Linked DNA regions of Homo sapiens: region 2 is linked to region 1. The links are contacts of gene promoters, found by promoter capture Hi-C in human tissues and cell types (Jung and others, 2019). All regions are on one chromosome and are shown on one strand. Each heading gives the region's core, a stretch centred on a gene start or on the middle of the fragment in contact. The rest is flanking DNA. Distances are from core to core; before and after follow the strand shown.

Region 1 (6,742 bases), core at 2,414-4,913:
TTCAATCTAACGGCCCTGCCTCTAATATCTTGCTTCTCTCAGGATGTCCCTAAAGGTTCCAGGCCCCTGATCCTTTCCTTGAGGAAACAGCTCAGCATAACTCTTCCTGGGCTCAAAGAAGTGAATTAAATATTAAATATGTAAGGCCAGAGCCCCTGCTGCAGCAGCACATTCCCAAAACAGACAATGGCATACAGCTCATCTGTCACTCTCCCAGTGGCTGTAGGCTGGGCCCCCCTGCTCCCCAGCCCACATTCCTGAGAAGGAATAAGAAATGGCAATATTTTGCTCTTCCCAGCAAGCTCATGGCTTCCTGTGTCCTTCCTTCCACCCCTAGTGTTGAAGGCTCCAGGGGCCTGGAAATGCCTGGAACATTGAGTTGTGGCATCCTCAGCAATGCAACTTAATAGGTCTATGACTGGACAGGGAGGGGCCTCTGTAGTTAGCCCCATTAGAGCCTGGAAGGTCCCGGGGGTGAGGAAACAGCTCAGGAAGGATGCTGAGGTCCTGACATCTCTCAGGGTTATGGGGAATTGGATATTAACTGTGATGAGGCCTCGGGGCAGGGGTCGGTTGGCTTGCTGCTCAGATTAATATAGGCCATAGAATTATCAGATAGGTAGAGCCTCAGAGATCACCCAGGCCAACCCTCTATTTTACAGAAAGGTAAACTGAGGCCTGAGAAAAGAGAGAAGCAACTTACACAAGGCCACTCAATGAGCTGTAGAATGGCTAGGCCAGTCTCTTGGTCTCTGGTATAGAGTTTGGTGCTTTTTCCACCCTACCTCCTGCATAACCCCCAAATCTCTTTCCTAATGATAGCAAGCAATGGCTCCTGCACTGTAAGGCCCAGGGGACCATTTTCCCAGGGAGCAGAATCTGTTCATGGTCCCACTTTGCCCAGCTAAGAACTGAAACAGCATGAGGTCCATGGGTTCCAGCTCAGCTCTGCCACTTCATAGGATGGAACCTTGGTCACGTCACTTCTCCAAGCTTTAATTCCTCACCTCTGAAATGGGGATTTCAGAACTGTGACCCTGGATGGCCAAAGGATCCAATGAGATCATGTATGGATCATATATATGGGGCATTTTTTGAACTGAAGCACTAACCAAATGATATTATTAAAACGACGTGAGGTTTGAAGATGCTGCAGAGGGAGGAAGCCTCAGGGGAGGAGGCTGTGAAGGAACAAGAACCCACATTCACAAGAGGCTGCCTGGCCATCCCACAGACCTGACTGATCCTGAGGCCACCAGCAGGAAATGCCCACAGCAGGTCAGACCACCCCAAGCTCACTGGCTTGAGAGACCGCCTGTCCACGTTGCTTCGTGTGTGTGTGCCTGTGCATGTACCTGGCAGCCCGGTATCACAGCAATTTGCCTGGCTGCTCTGGGGGCACATTTGGCAGGAGGGCAGTGTGCGGTGCTGAGGGAGAACCTCCACTTCAGGCCAGGTCACAGACTCTCAAAGAAGAGCCTCCTTGCCGGGATCCCCTGCGGGGACATCTCGAGTGCCCAGCTCCTCTGGGGCCCTTACCTTGTACTTGGCCGCAAGCAGCTCTGTGGCCTGCTGTTCCCGCCGCAGGTCCTCCAGCATCTTCTCCTTCTCCTCCAGCAGCTTCTGCTTCTCCTCGCTCACCAGGCTGCGGTCATCCTGGATGGCTGCCTTCTCCTCCTCCAGCCGCTCCTTCTGTTCCTGCAGGTAATTCTCCATGTTCTTCTCCAAGGCTGACTCCAGGATGGGCTGGGGCGGGCGGTGGTTGTTGTTGTTGTCATCCTCCTCTTCTGCCACCCAGGCCTCAATCACTGGGCCCTCAGGGTACCCAGGCGGGGCGGACACGGCCTTCTTCCTGCGGCTGCTCTTCCTCCGGGGCCGCTTCCCCAGCATCCCCCTCTTCTCCAGCTGGGCCTTCAGGCGGGCAATCTCCTCTTGGAATTCCCGCAGCAGTGTGTCCTTGGGGTCCTCGTTCACCCGGGGCTTGTTCTTGATGTTCTTGGCTCGGTTGGCAAAGCGCAAGGTGGAGAGGCTCTCATCGTAGCTGTGAGAAGCTGGCCCCAGTGTGGCTACCATGATGGTCTTGGCATTCCCCCCCAGGGAGTCCTGGAGCAGCCGGGTCAGCTTGGAGTCCCGGTAGGGAATGTGGGTGCTCCTGTTGCCCGCCAGGGCAGCAATCACGTTGCCCAGGGCAGATAATGAGAGGTTGATTTTGGAGGCTTCCTTAGGCCTCTCTCCACCAGCACCACCACCACTGCCTCCACCGCCACCACCGCCACCCGAGGATGGTGTGGCTGCCCCTCCCGCTGTGTTGGGGCCTGCCTTGTTCTGCCTCTCGCTGCCAGCCAGGTCCACGAGGTTGAGCTTGCCCACTCGGATGTGGTCCTGGCCATCAGAGCCACGTTCGCTGCACTCCACAGTGATGATGAAGATGGCATGGGAGCGGGAGCTGACCTCATTCATGTGGGTGCTGCCCACAGCCCGGGTCTGGTTCCCCAGGTTCATCACATGCTCAATCTCCTTGACATTCTTGGTGACGAAGGAGGAGAGGTCCTTGATGTAGACGCCAGTCTCGGGGTTCTCTTTCAGCTCTAGCCTCTTGCCCGGCTCCTTGGAGAGCAGGTCTCGAATCTCTTCCTGGTAGATCTCCAAATAGGAGGCCCGGACCAGGTACTGTTGGTTCTGGGAGCGGGAGATGTGGGTGAAGATGTGCTCAAAGGCATTCGGGATGACCCCGCGCAGCTCGGGCTCCACCCAGGTCCCCTGCATGGTATAGGTCTTGCCAGTGCCCGTCTGGCCATAGGCAAACACCGTGCCATTGAAACCCTGGAGCACGGAGTCTATCAGGGGCCTCACGGTTTCGTCATACAGGTCGGCCTGCTTGGAGCTGGCATCATACACGGCGTCAAAGGTGAAGGTCTTGGGCAGCTCCCCCGGGGCGGCGCGGGGGTTCCGCAGGGTCACCTGGCCCAGTTTCACGTCCATGGTCAGGATCTGCTCGTGACCAGCAGCCTCCTCCTTCCTGCTGAGGGGGCGGCACCGGGCCACCACCTTGAGGGCCTCGCTGGCCTTGGTCTTACTGGCCATCTTGCTGCTCTGACCTTCCTGCCCCCGAGCCCCTCCGCAGCCTGGGCGGTCCTGCTATCCTGCTCGCTAGGTCGGGATCAGCGGGGCCGGCCCAGCCCCCAGGCGCAGCTCTTCAATCCGCATGCAGCCTCCTAGGGTGGGGACGCTGGGAGGTGGCCCCAACGCTGCTGCAGTCCGGGCCTCCACCGCTCTCCGGTCCTCTCTGCACCGGCTGGGAGGTGAATTAGGCAGAATCCCCCAGTCGCCGCGGGAGCAGCGCCTGCCGAGCAGCCGTGCCCGGAGCCCGCCCCATGCAGGAGCAGAGGGAGCGCTGCCGTAAACAGCTTCGGCAACAATGAGATAAAGGAAGAGGAAAATGGGATGGGGGTGGGCGGCGAGCTGTCTTCTCCTCCTTCCTCTAGGGATCCATAGCGTGGGCTGCCGGTCGTGGGCGGCCGGGGGTCCCGGGCCTCCCGAGGGCAGAGGCTCACCTGGAGTCCTCCCCCCAAGCTGGGGGATCATTCATTGCAGCCAGCGCGGCTGCTGCTGCCTCTGCCTCCGCCTTCCCCGCCGCCGCCACTGGAGAATGAGAGAGAAAAACAGAAGGGGATGGGGCGGAGCAGCGGCAGCGAGAGTGATGTTGCCGCCGCGCTGCGGCCCCAGCTAAGCCTCCCGACTGGGGTGGGGCAGGGGGCGGGGCCGCGGGGCGGGAGGCGCGAGCCCGGAGCGGCCCGGGTGCGGGGGACAGGGGCGCATCGCCGTCTCTGCACCCCCGCCGACCGCTCCGGGATGACAGGCTCCGGTGCCGACCCAGGTCCTGCGCCCACCAGTCGGGTGCAGCGCAGCCACCGCCCGCCGTCACCCCACCGAGCCCGAGCATGCCGGGAATTGTAGTCCTGCCTTTGTTAACCGGGTTCTGGCAGGTTGCTAATGCCTTTCCCGGTCCCCCAGTCCGGGAGGCGCCTCCCTCATCCGCATGCCACCCCTTGAGTGACTGCTGAGCTTGCACCACCTATGCCTGGTCCCTCCGAGCCACCATCCTCGGACACCCCCCTGCTCCTGCCTTTCTGCCTGCAAATGGGTGCGCGTCACCCCTCCCCGTCAGGGTGTCGCCAGGCCTCCGGGAACCGAACTCCTAAATGTTCCTTGACTCTGTCCTTTCCTCCCCCTGTCCCGGTCTACTTCTGGCCTTCCTCTTCTCTCTGCTGGAGCCCACCTTCCAGCTGATTCTCTCGCACCTTATGTCCGCACAAGCACCCGGGAGCCCCCTCGCTCCTCCTCCACCGCCTTCCTTGTGTGAAAGCCTCTCCATCTTCCGCCTTCGCAGCCTCACCGCCACTACTCCTCTATAGAAAAATCTGTGTTCCAGACAGCCATTTCTTCAGTTATCCAGCGCCTGCTGAGCCCCAGGCCCCATTCTAGGATCTGGGTCCTTCCTGTCCTCAAGCAGTGCACATTCCCGGAACCGTGTTTTGTTTCTTTAACTGGCTTTGCTGTGCAGCATCTTTGTGCTTTTGCCCAGAGGCCTGGTCACCCTTCGGCACTTAGTGCCCTGCCACTTGGGCAGTTCAAGCACCTCCTCCTCCACGAAGCCTTCCCTTAGCAATTTTTTTTTTTCTATAGTGAAAGAGGCACAGAATTTACCTAAGACAAAACCTGGATTGAAGTTCCAGTTCTGATGGCCATCCAATGGAGTGGCTTTGAGCAGTCACTCCCCTTGCTCCAGCCTTAGTTTCCTCATTTATTTTTTTAAAAATTCGAGGCGGGAAAGAAATAATTAACAACTACTTCATGGAATGGTTGGGAGGCTCAAATGAAATAATGAATCATGAAGTACTGTACCATGAGAAGTCCTGCCCTGGCTTGGATTGCCTGACAGCTCCTGCTTCCTTGAGTATCCTGGATAGACCATGTCTGTGCTTGGTGTTCCTCTATGGGAGTCTTAATCTTTTTTTTTTTTCCTGTAGGATACAAATAAAGTGTAATTCCACAAGGCCAAGGACCAAGCCAGAGTCCTATCCATGGTCCACTCTGCAGAGGGCAGTTGAGTCTGTGGACTGAGCCCAAGCTGTCTGTCTTTACTCTCCATATGAGAACCAGATTGAGAGGTGCTGTTATCTGAAACCTGGAGACCCTTCTTCACAGAGGCACCAGAAGAGTCTTTCCACAAAACATTTCCAAGCATGTTATCCTCTAGAGGACCCAATTGTTTAGTTTTCCAACTCAACAAAATTTACCTCCTTAACTCTTCCCCATCCCAGAACTTTAGCGTGAGCTGGACTAGAGGCTTGAGACTTAGCTGAGAGCTTGCCCGCTTCTGAAGCTCCCTGGCCTCCCTCCACCCTCTCCTTGATTAAGCTCCACTGCTTATGATTAACATGGCTTTTGGACCAATTACGGGGTGGGGTTTTGGCTCCGTAGACTAACCCCTCTTGGCTCTCACAACATGATTTCTGGATGGAGCCTTTAGTTCTTCAACTATTTTCTGGTTGCATTCGGCTTTGGGTTTTGAATACCCTTTCTCTGCTTAGGCTAATGTATCTGACACTACAGCGCTGGATAAAAGGGATTCTCACCCTGTTCTCCCCACTTGATGTCACCACCTGGCAGGGGACTTACCCAGATCCTCTTGTGTGAGAGGGAGATTGGAATCGCGTTGCTTACAAGATGTGTGATCCTAGGCCAGGCGCGGTGGCTCACGCCTATAATCCCAGCACTTTGGGAGGCCGAGGCGGGTGGATCATGAGGTCAAGAGATCGAGACCATCTTGGCCAACATCATGAAACCTCATCTCTACTAAAAATACAAAAATTAGCTGGGCATGGTGGTGCACGCCTGTAGTCCCAGCTACTTGAGAGGCTGAGACAGGAAAATAATTTGAACCCAGGAGGCAGAGATTGCAGTGAGGCTAGATGGCGCCACTGCACTCCAGCCTGGCGACAAAGCAAGACTCCATCTCACACACACAAAAAAAGATATGTGATCCTGGGGAAATTATTTAACTTCTCTGAACAGCTATTTTTTCAGTGGAATAAATGAGGATAAGAATGCTTACATTGACCAGGTGTGGTGGCTCAAGCTGTAATCCCAGCTATTCAGGAGGCTGAGGTAGGAGGATCGCTTAAGCCCGTAAGTTCAGGGCTGCAGTGAGCGATGATTGTACCACTGCACTCTAGCCTAGGGTAACAGAGTGAGAACCTGTCTCTGAAAAAAAAAGAGGGCTTACCTTACACATCAGGATTAAGTGAGATAATGTATGCAAAAACTCCTACGACATAGGAGGCACTCCAGAAATAGCAGTTTTCTTTTCTCTTGTCCTTTGCATTCAAGGCTGTTCACTTCAGCGTCTCCATTTTCACCGCTGTCTTCATTTTTCCTTCCTCTTACATACTCAAGTCTCCAGCCACTCTGATTAGCTTAAGTCCCCCAAACACACCCCACTTTTTTGTGTCTCCTTGTGTTTGCTCATGCTGCTCCTCTGCCCGAAATGTCCTAACTTTGTTTTTATTTCAATTAATTTATTTGAGAAGGGGTCTCATTCTGTCACTCAGGCTGGAGTGCAGTGGTATGATTATGGCTCACTGCAGCCTCAAACTCCTGAGCTCAAGCTATCCTCCTGCCTTAGCCTCCCGAATAGCTGGGACTACAGTTGCATGCCACCACACCTGGATAATTAAAA
Region 2 (6,742 bases), core at 1,996-4,495, 39 kb after region 1:
GATGCTGGCGCCCAGGCCATCCTATGTCATCTGTATCCAGACACAGATTCCAGATCCCTGTTCATGCCTCTGAGGACATGGAGCGGGCCTTTTAGCTCTCTTCAGAGCTAGAGTTTCAGGCATATGGTTGCTGCCCTGGATGACAAGGGTAGCACATGGGTGGGAACTCCAGATGCATGTAAGGGAGCAAGAAGCTGCCCACTGAGGAGAATGCTGGGATAGTGCAGGGCTGGGCTGGCCCAACTAGTTCAGCTCAGCCAGGAAAGGGCAGGTCAGATCTGGCTCAGCAGGGGAGGCTGTGTCGGGGAGTGGTGCTGACTCAGGGCCTGGTGAGTCAGGTGACAGCCAAGGACAGCTGTTGCCTGGGTGTTTTTAGAAAACTTTGGCTGCCAACCACTCTCTCATGGGTGCTTCTGCACCTACTCAGAAGCAGGCAGAAAAAAGGAGGGCATCTTCTGTATAAGAAGCTCTGGGTGAGGGGTATTAATATCTGGCTCTACTTATGTTGATCCTTCCCATGAAGTACCTAGAAAACGGAGCAGAAATTAATTGAGAGGCTTCCAAATCCCTTCTGAATTCTCTGAAAATCACTTATCTTTTCTGCTTAGCTCTTTTTAGGCACCTTGCCAGGTATCCAGCATAGAGGTTAAGAGAGCAGGCTCTGAAGTTAGGAGGGCCTGGGATCAAAACCTAATTTCATCATTTATAGTTGTATGACTTAGATCAGACTAAAAACAACTTTTAATTATGGAAAGCTTCAAATATATATGAATGACACACATTAGTATGATGAACCTCCATATACTCATTATCCAGCTTGAATAATCATTAACCCACTGTAACTTTATTTCATCTATACTCTACTTATCCCCTTTGCTCCCACTTATTTTGAAGGAAATACCAGGCATCATCACATTCCATCTCTTTTTTTCTTTTTTTTTTGAGACGGAGTCTTGCTCTGTTGCCCAGGCTGGAGTGCAGTGGTGCAATCTCAGCTCACTGCAGCCTCCTCCTCTTGGGTTCAATGATTCTCCTGCCTCAGCCTCCTGAGTAGCTGAGATTACAGGTGCCCGCCACCATGCCTGGCTAATTTTTGTATTTTTAGTAGAGATGGCGTTTCACCATATTGGCCAGGCTGGTCTCGAACTCCTGATGTCAGGTGATCCACTCGCCTCAGCTTCCCAAAGTGCTGGGATTACAGGCATGAGCCACTGCACCCCACCTTCCATGTCTTTTCACATCTTTTTCTTTTCTTTTCTTTTTTTTTTTTTTGAGATAGAGTCTTGCTCTGCTGCCCAGGCTGGAGTGTGGTGGTGCAATCTCGGTTCACTGCAACCTCCGCCTCCCAGGCTCAAGCAATCCTCCCACCTCAGCCTCCCTACCAGCTGGGACTACAGGTGCATACCACCTTGCCCTGCTAATTTTTGTATTTTTTGTAGAGACGGGGTTTCACCATGTTGCCCAGTCTGGTCTTGAACCCTGGGCCTCAAGCAATGTGCCAGATTTGGTCTTCCAAAGTGCTGGGATTACAGGTGTGAGACACCATGCCCGGCCTCTTTTAACCTATTTAAACACTTGTTTCTTCATCTGAAAATGGGGATGATCATAGTTCCTACATCAATGTATTATTGTGAAGTCATGCCTCTAAAGGGCCAGAACAATGCAGGAACTCCATAAATGAAAACTCATGTTGTTAGATAAAATATAAAAATACCCCAGGCATGGTGGCTCACGCCTCTAATTCCAGAACTTTGGGAGGCTGAGGCAGGAGGACTGCTTGAGGCCAGGAGTTCAAGACCAGCCTGGGAAACATAGTGAGACCCCATCTCCACTTAAAAAAAAAAAAAATTAGCTGGGTGTAGTGACTCACACCTGTAATCTCAGCTACTTGGGAGGCTGAGGCAGGATGATCACTTGAGCACAGGAGTTTGAGGCCACAGTTAGTTATGATTGAGCTATTGTATTCCAGCCTGGGTGACAGAGTGAGACCCGCCTAAAAAGAAATTAGCTGGGTGTGATGGCACACACCTGTAATCCCAGCTACACGGGAGGCTGAGGCAGGAGAATCAGCTTGAACCCAGGAGGCAGAGGTTGCAGTGGGCCAAGATGGTGCCACTGCACTCCAGCCTGGACAGAGCAAGACTGAGTCTCAAAACAAGCAAACAAACAAACAAGCAAACAAACAAAAAAGGGAGCCTCTGCAACTTTCCTATCTCTTTGCCTGTGTCCCTCTTTCCTCCTGGTGACCCTCCCTTCCAGCATCTGAGGACTCTGCCCTGCCAGCACGAGGCCCACTGCTGACATCATGACAGGGTTAGGATGACTGCCCAACCTGTCTAGGCCTCAGGATGGGCTGGGAGCACAGGTCACCTGAACCTGGGGTAGAGGGGGCTAGAAAGAGGCAGTGGAGACCCAGGAAAGAGGAACCGAGGCTGCAGCAGCCTTGGAGGGCAGGCAGGAGCCAAGTTTCAGCAGAGGTGCAGCACATTCAAGTGGCAAGGTCAGCAGAAGGTGGGAAAGAGGAAGTGGACGTGCACAAATGTCAGGTAGAGCTGGAGTCATCCTGGGAATTTTACCAGAAACAAGTGTATCAGTCACGGGTTTTGGTTGCAACAGAAACTGATATTTGGCATTTAGAAGCAGAACATACATTTACTGAAAGGCTATTGGGAAGCTCTCAGAATTACTGGGAAGGCTAGAGAAACAGGCTCAGGGATCTGGGGAAAGCAACAGGCCACAGATTCAGTCTGTTAGGCCAAGCAGTGAGTCCATCACTGCCCCTGCCGGACCCCAAAGAGATTCTGTAGCCTATAGCACCATGGTGGCCAGCACTGGACTTGGGATCCCATCCAGCTCTGGGGTCCAGAGGTGGCCCAGAAACCAAGTGCTACTGCTCTCAGTCGCCCTCACTGTGCCTGCTTCTTTGTGTAGCTGTACACCTGTAATCCCAGCTACTCAGGAGGCTGAGGCAGAAGAATGACTCGAACCCGGGAGGTGGAGGTTGCAGTGAGCTGAGATTGTGCCACTGCCCTCCAGCCTGGGCGACTGGGTAAGACTCCATCTCAAAAAAAGAAAAAAAAAAAAAAGAAAGAAAGAAATAGCATCCCTATTTGGCCTTCAAGGACACAGGGCAGGTTTGCCCTGTGGACACCAGTGCCCTGAGGGAGGGCAAAAGGTAGTGGAACCCTGAATGCATAAGCTACATGGGCAAAAGTCTGGCTTCCTCTTGGGAGTATTTTTTCTTTTATTTTTATTTTCAATGTTTGTGGGTACATAGTAGGTGTATATATTTATTGGGTACATGAGGTGTTTTGATACAGACATGAAATGTGAAAGAAGCACATCATGGAAAATGGGGTATCCATCCCCCCAAGCATTTATCCTTTGAGTTACAAACAGTAAAATTATACTCCTTTAAGTTATTATTATTATTTTTTGAGACAGAATCTTGCTCTGTCACCCAGGCTGGAGTGCAGTGGCGCGATCTCAGCTCACTGCAACCTCCACCTCCCAGATTCAAGCGATTCTCCTGCCTCAGCCTCTGCAGTAGCTGAGACTACAGGCGCACACCACCATGCCCGGCTAATTTTTTGTATTTTTAGTAGAGACAGGGTTTCACCATGTTGGCCAGGATGGTCTCGATCTTCTGACCTCGTGATCCGCCCACCTTGGCCTCCCAAAGTGCTGGGATTACAGGTGTGAGCCACTGCGCCCGGCCCCTAAGTTATTTTTCTTGGAGGTATTTTGGCCAACAGAGATGGCTGCTTTTAGATATTGTCTTGACAGTGACTGACTCAATTAGCAGGTGTGTAAGGGCTTTTGATAACCTATACTTCTACTCTTTCTCTGGCTCCAGGAAAAAGGTGAGGTAGCTTGCAAATAACTGGATTTTTCCAAACAGCTAGCACCAGACAGGGAGGGGAAAGAGCTGACAGCTGAGAGTTGAGCACCAAGCTTCAGAAACTGACAATTCCATAAAGTCCATGGCCAAGTTCATATGATGAAATAAATCTGTCACATTTTTAAATTTGCATGACTATTGTTATGCTATGTGGCAGTTAGGCATAAAAGAAACAGCCAGAATCTATATTTTTTGTATTGATCCAAACCAAATATTTAGGGTTTTTCTTCTCATTTTGATATTTTTCTGCAAATGATAACTATAAAGAGTATCAATATCAATGTCATCTACCTCCATGTGCAATTTGATCTTCTCAATTTGTTTAAAAATTTAGATCTGGGATGCTGAGCACTGAGTTAATCACATTCCTCACTTTCTAGCACATTGACCACTGACTATGTGGTCTGTGCAAGGTCCTACTCATTTTATATTTTTCCCCCTTCTTTTTTTTTTTTGAGACAGAGTCTCGCTCTGTCGCCCAGGCTGGAATGCAATGGCACGATCTCGGCTCAATGCAACCTTCACCTCCCAGATTCAAGCAATTCTCCTGCCTCAGCCTCCCGAGTAGCTAGGATTACAGGCACCTGCCATCATGCCCAGCTAATTTTTGTATTTTTGTAGAGACGGGGTTTCATCATGTTGGCCAGGCTGGTCTTGAACTCCTGACATCAGGTAATCAGCCCGCCTCGGCCTCCCAAAGTGCTGGGATTACAGGCGTGAGCCACTGTACCCAGCCTATTTTTCCCCCTTCTTCCCTCTCATTGCCTTCTTCTTCCATAGGTTTCATGTGTAATATGTTTGATGTATGTTATTAAACATGTGTGAAACCTCATAAAAGAAAGTTGTTGTTTGTAATTTACCTGAATGGCATTGTATTATAAATCTTTTTTTTTTTTTAATGAGATAGAGTCTTGCTCTGTCACTCACGCTGGAGTGCAGTGGTATGATCTCGGCTTACTGCAACCTCCACCTCCCAGGTGCAAGCAATTCTGTCTCAGTCTCCCGAGTAGCTGCGATTACAGGCGCCTGCCACCACATCTGGCTAATTTTTGTATTTTTAGTAGAGACAGGGTTTCACCATGTTGGACAGGCCAGTCTCAAACTCCTGACCTCGTGATCTGCCTGCCTAGGCCTCCCAAAGTGCTGGGATTACAGGTGTGACCACCACGCCCAGCCTATAATTCATTTTCTGTTTCCTTTGTTTCAGTTCACTATGTTGCTGAAGGTGTAGCTAGTTAGGGGCTTAATAGTGCATGTGGGATAGGCCACGGGCAAGCCTGCTATCGGCCCAATAATACAAGAAACTTTCTTATATGGTATACGGTAGGCCCTTGAATGCTGACCTGGCCTCCTCCTGTGGTTAATCCTACAAAAAAAAGCTAGTCCCAGGCTGGGTGCGGTGGCTCACGCCTGTAATCCCAGCACTTCGGGAGGCCAAGGTGGGTGGATCGCCTGAGGTCAGGAGTTTGAGACCAGCCTGGCCAACATGGTGAAACCCCATCTCTACTAAAAATACAAAAATTAGCCAGGTGTGGTGGCATGCACCTGTAATCCCAGCTCCTCGGGAGGCTGAGGCAGGAGAATCACTTGAACCTGGGAGGCGGAGGTTGCAGTGAGCCGAGGTCATGCCACTGCACTCCAGCCTGGAGAATAAGACCGAGAATTCGTCTCAAAAAAAAAAAAAAAAAAAGCTAGTCCCAACTCTGACCTCATTAGACCAGTTTTCTCCCTATGAATGTGGGATAGGCCATGGGTAAGGCCTGCGGTGATCACCAGAACTTAGGCATGTTTCTGTGAGGAACTAGAAAAGCATTGTTCTTTGCTTATGTGCTTATTTCACATTGCATGCCTGTATCATTGTTCTTTGCTTAGCTTGTTTGCCAATTTGTTATTTTTATTTTTATATTTTTTTTGAGCGGGAGTCTTGCTCTGTCACCCAGGCTGGAGTGCAGTGGCATGATCTCAGCTCACTGCAACCTCTGCCTCCTGGGTTCAAGCGATTCTCCTGCCTCAGTCTCCCGAGTAGCTGGGATTACAGGCCTACACCACCACGCCTGGCTAATTTTTTTTTTTTATTTTTAGTAGATACGGGGTTTTACCATGTTTTCCAGGCTAGTCTCAAACTCCTGACCTCAATTGATCCACCCGCCATGGCCTCCCAAAGTGCTGGGATTACAGGCTTAAGCCACCGCACCTGGCCCCAGTTTATTAATAAACAGAAGTGCTAACAACCTTAACTTGGGTCTGAGTTGTCATAATAGCCAATTTTCAAACCCAAGCCAACCCTTTCTGATCTGCTCTAACTCAGTGAGCATCCATTGTATTTTATTTACTTATTCTCCTAGTAATAGATGCTTAGATTGGTTCCAATCCAACATCTAGCTACGACAAAGCAATGATGAACCTGTGTGGGAATTTCTCTTGGACGCCCCCAGGAATAGTGCTGTTGAGTCACAGGTATGTACATTATTTATTAAATATTGCCTTGTTGCTTCCCAGAATGGGTAGACCAGATTGAATTCCTGTCAGCTATGCATGAGAGTTCTCATCTCTTCACATCTTTACCAACACTTGGTATTATCCATCTTTCTAATTTTTGCCATGCTGATGGATGGAAAATATTATCTTATTGTTTAATTTTAATTTCTCTGGTTACAAACTTGAATATTTTGTTTCAGAACATTTCTTCATATAGTCATACACTTCTGTTAATTGCCTGTTCTTCTTCTTAATTTTATTTTTTTAGAAGAGGTCTTCCTTTGTCTCTCAGATTTGAGTGCAGAGACACCATCACAGCTCACTGCAACCTTGAACTCCTGGGCTCAAGTGATCCTCCTACCT

Evidence for each region. Contacts are between HindIII fragments. The study calls those that stand out against the background at their distance.
Region 2: a contact is called between a fragment that was not itself captured here and the fragment with the promoter of KIF3C in region 1, in 1 of the 25 tissues and cell types used here (neural progenitor cells).

What each region holds. Positions count from the first base shown.
Region 1 is chr2:25,978,834-25,985,575 of GRCh38, forward strand. It overlaps KIF3C (kinesin family member 3C), which reads right to left and starts at 3,664. Exons shown (of 8, transcript NM_002254.8): 1 at 1,540-3,664. The coding sequence starts at 3,084. RefSeq lists enhancers at 907-1,416, 1,417-1,925, 2,435-2,943, 2,944-3,453 and silencers at 3,443-3,602, 3,743-3,912. The HindIII fragment of the contact is 11,133 bases long and covers 1-6,742 here.
Region 2 is chr2:26,017,994-26,024,735 of GRCh38, forward strand. No RefSeq gene overlaps it. Among named protein-coding and RNA genes, the nearest start is that of RAB10, 13 kb to the right of the region's middle. The HindIII fragment of the contact is 6,969 bases long and covers 1-6,730 here.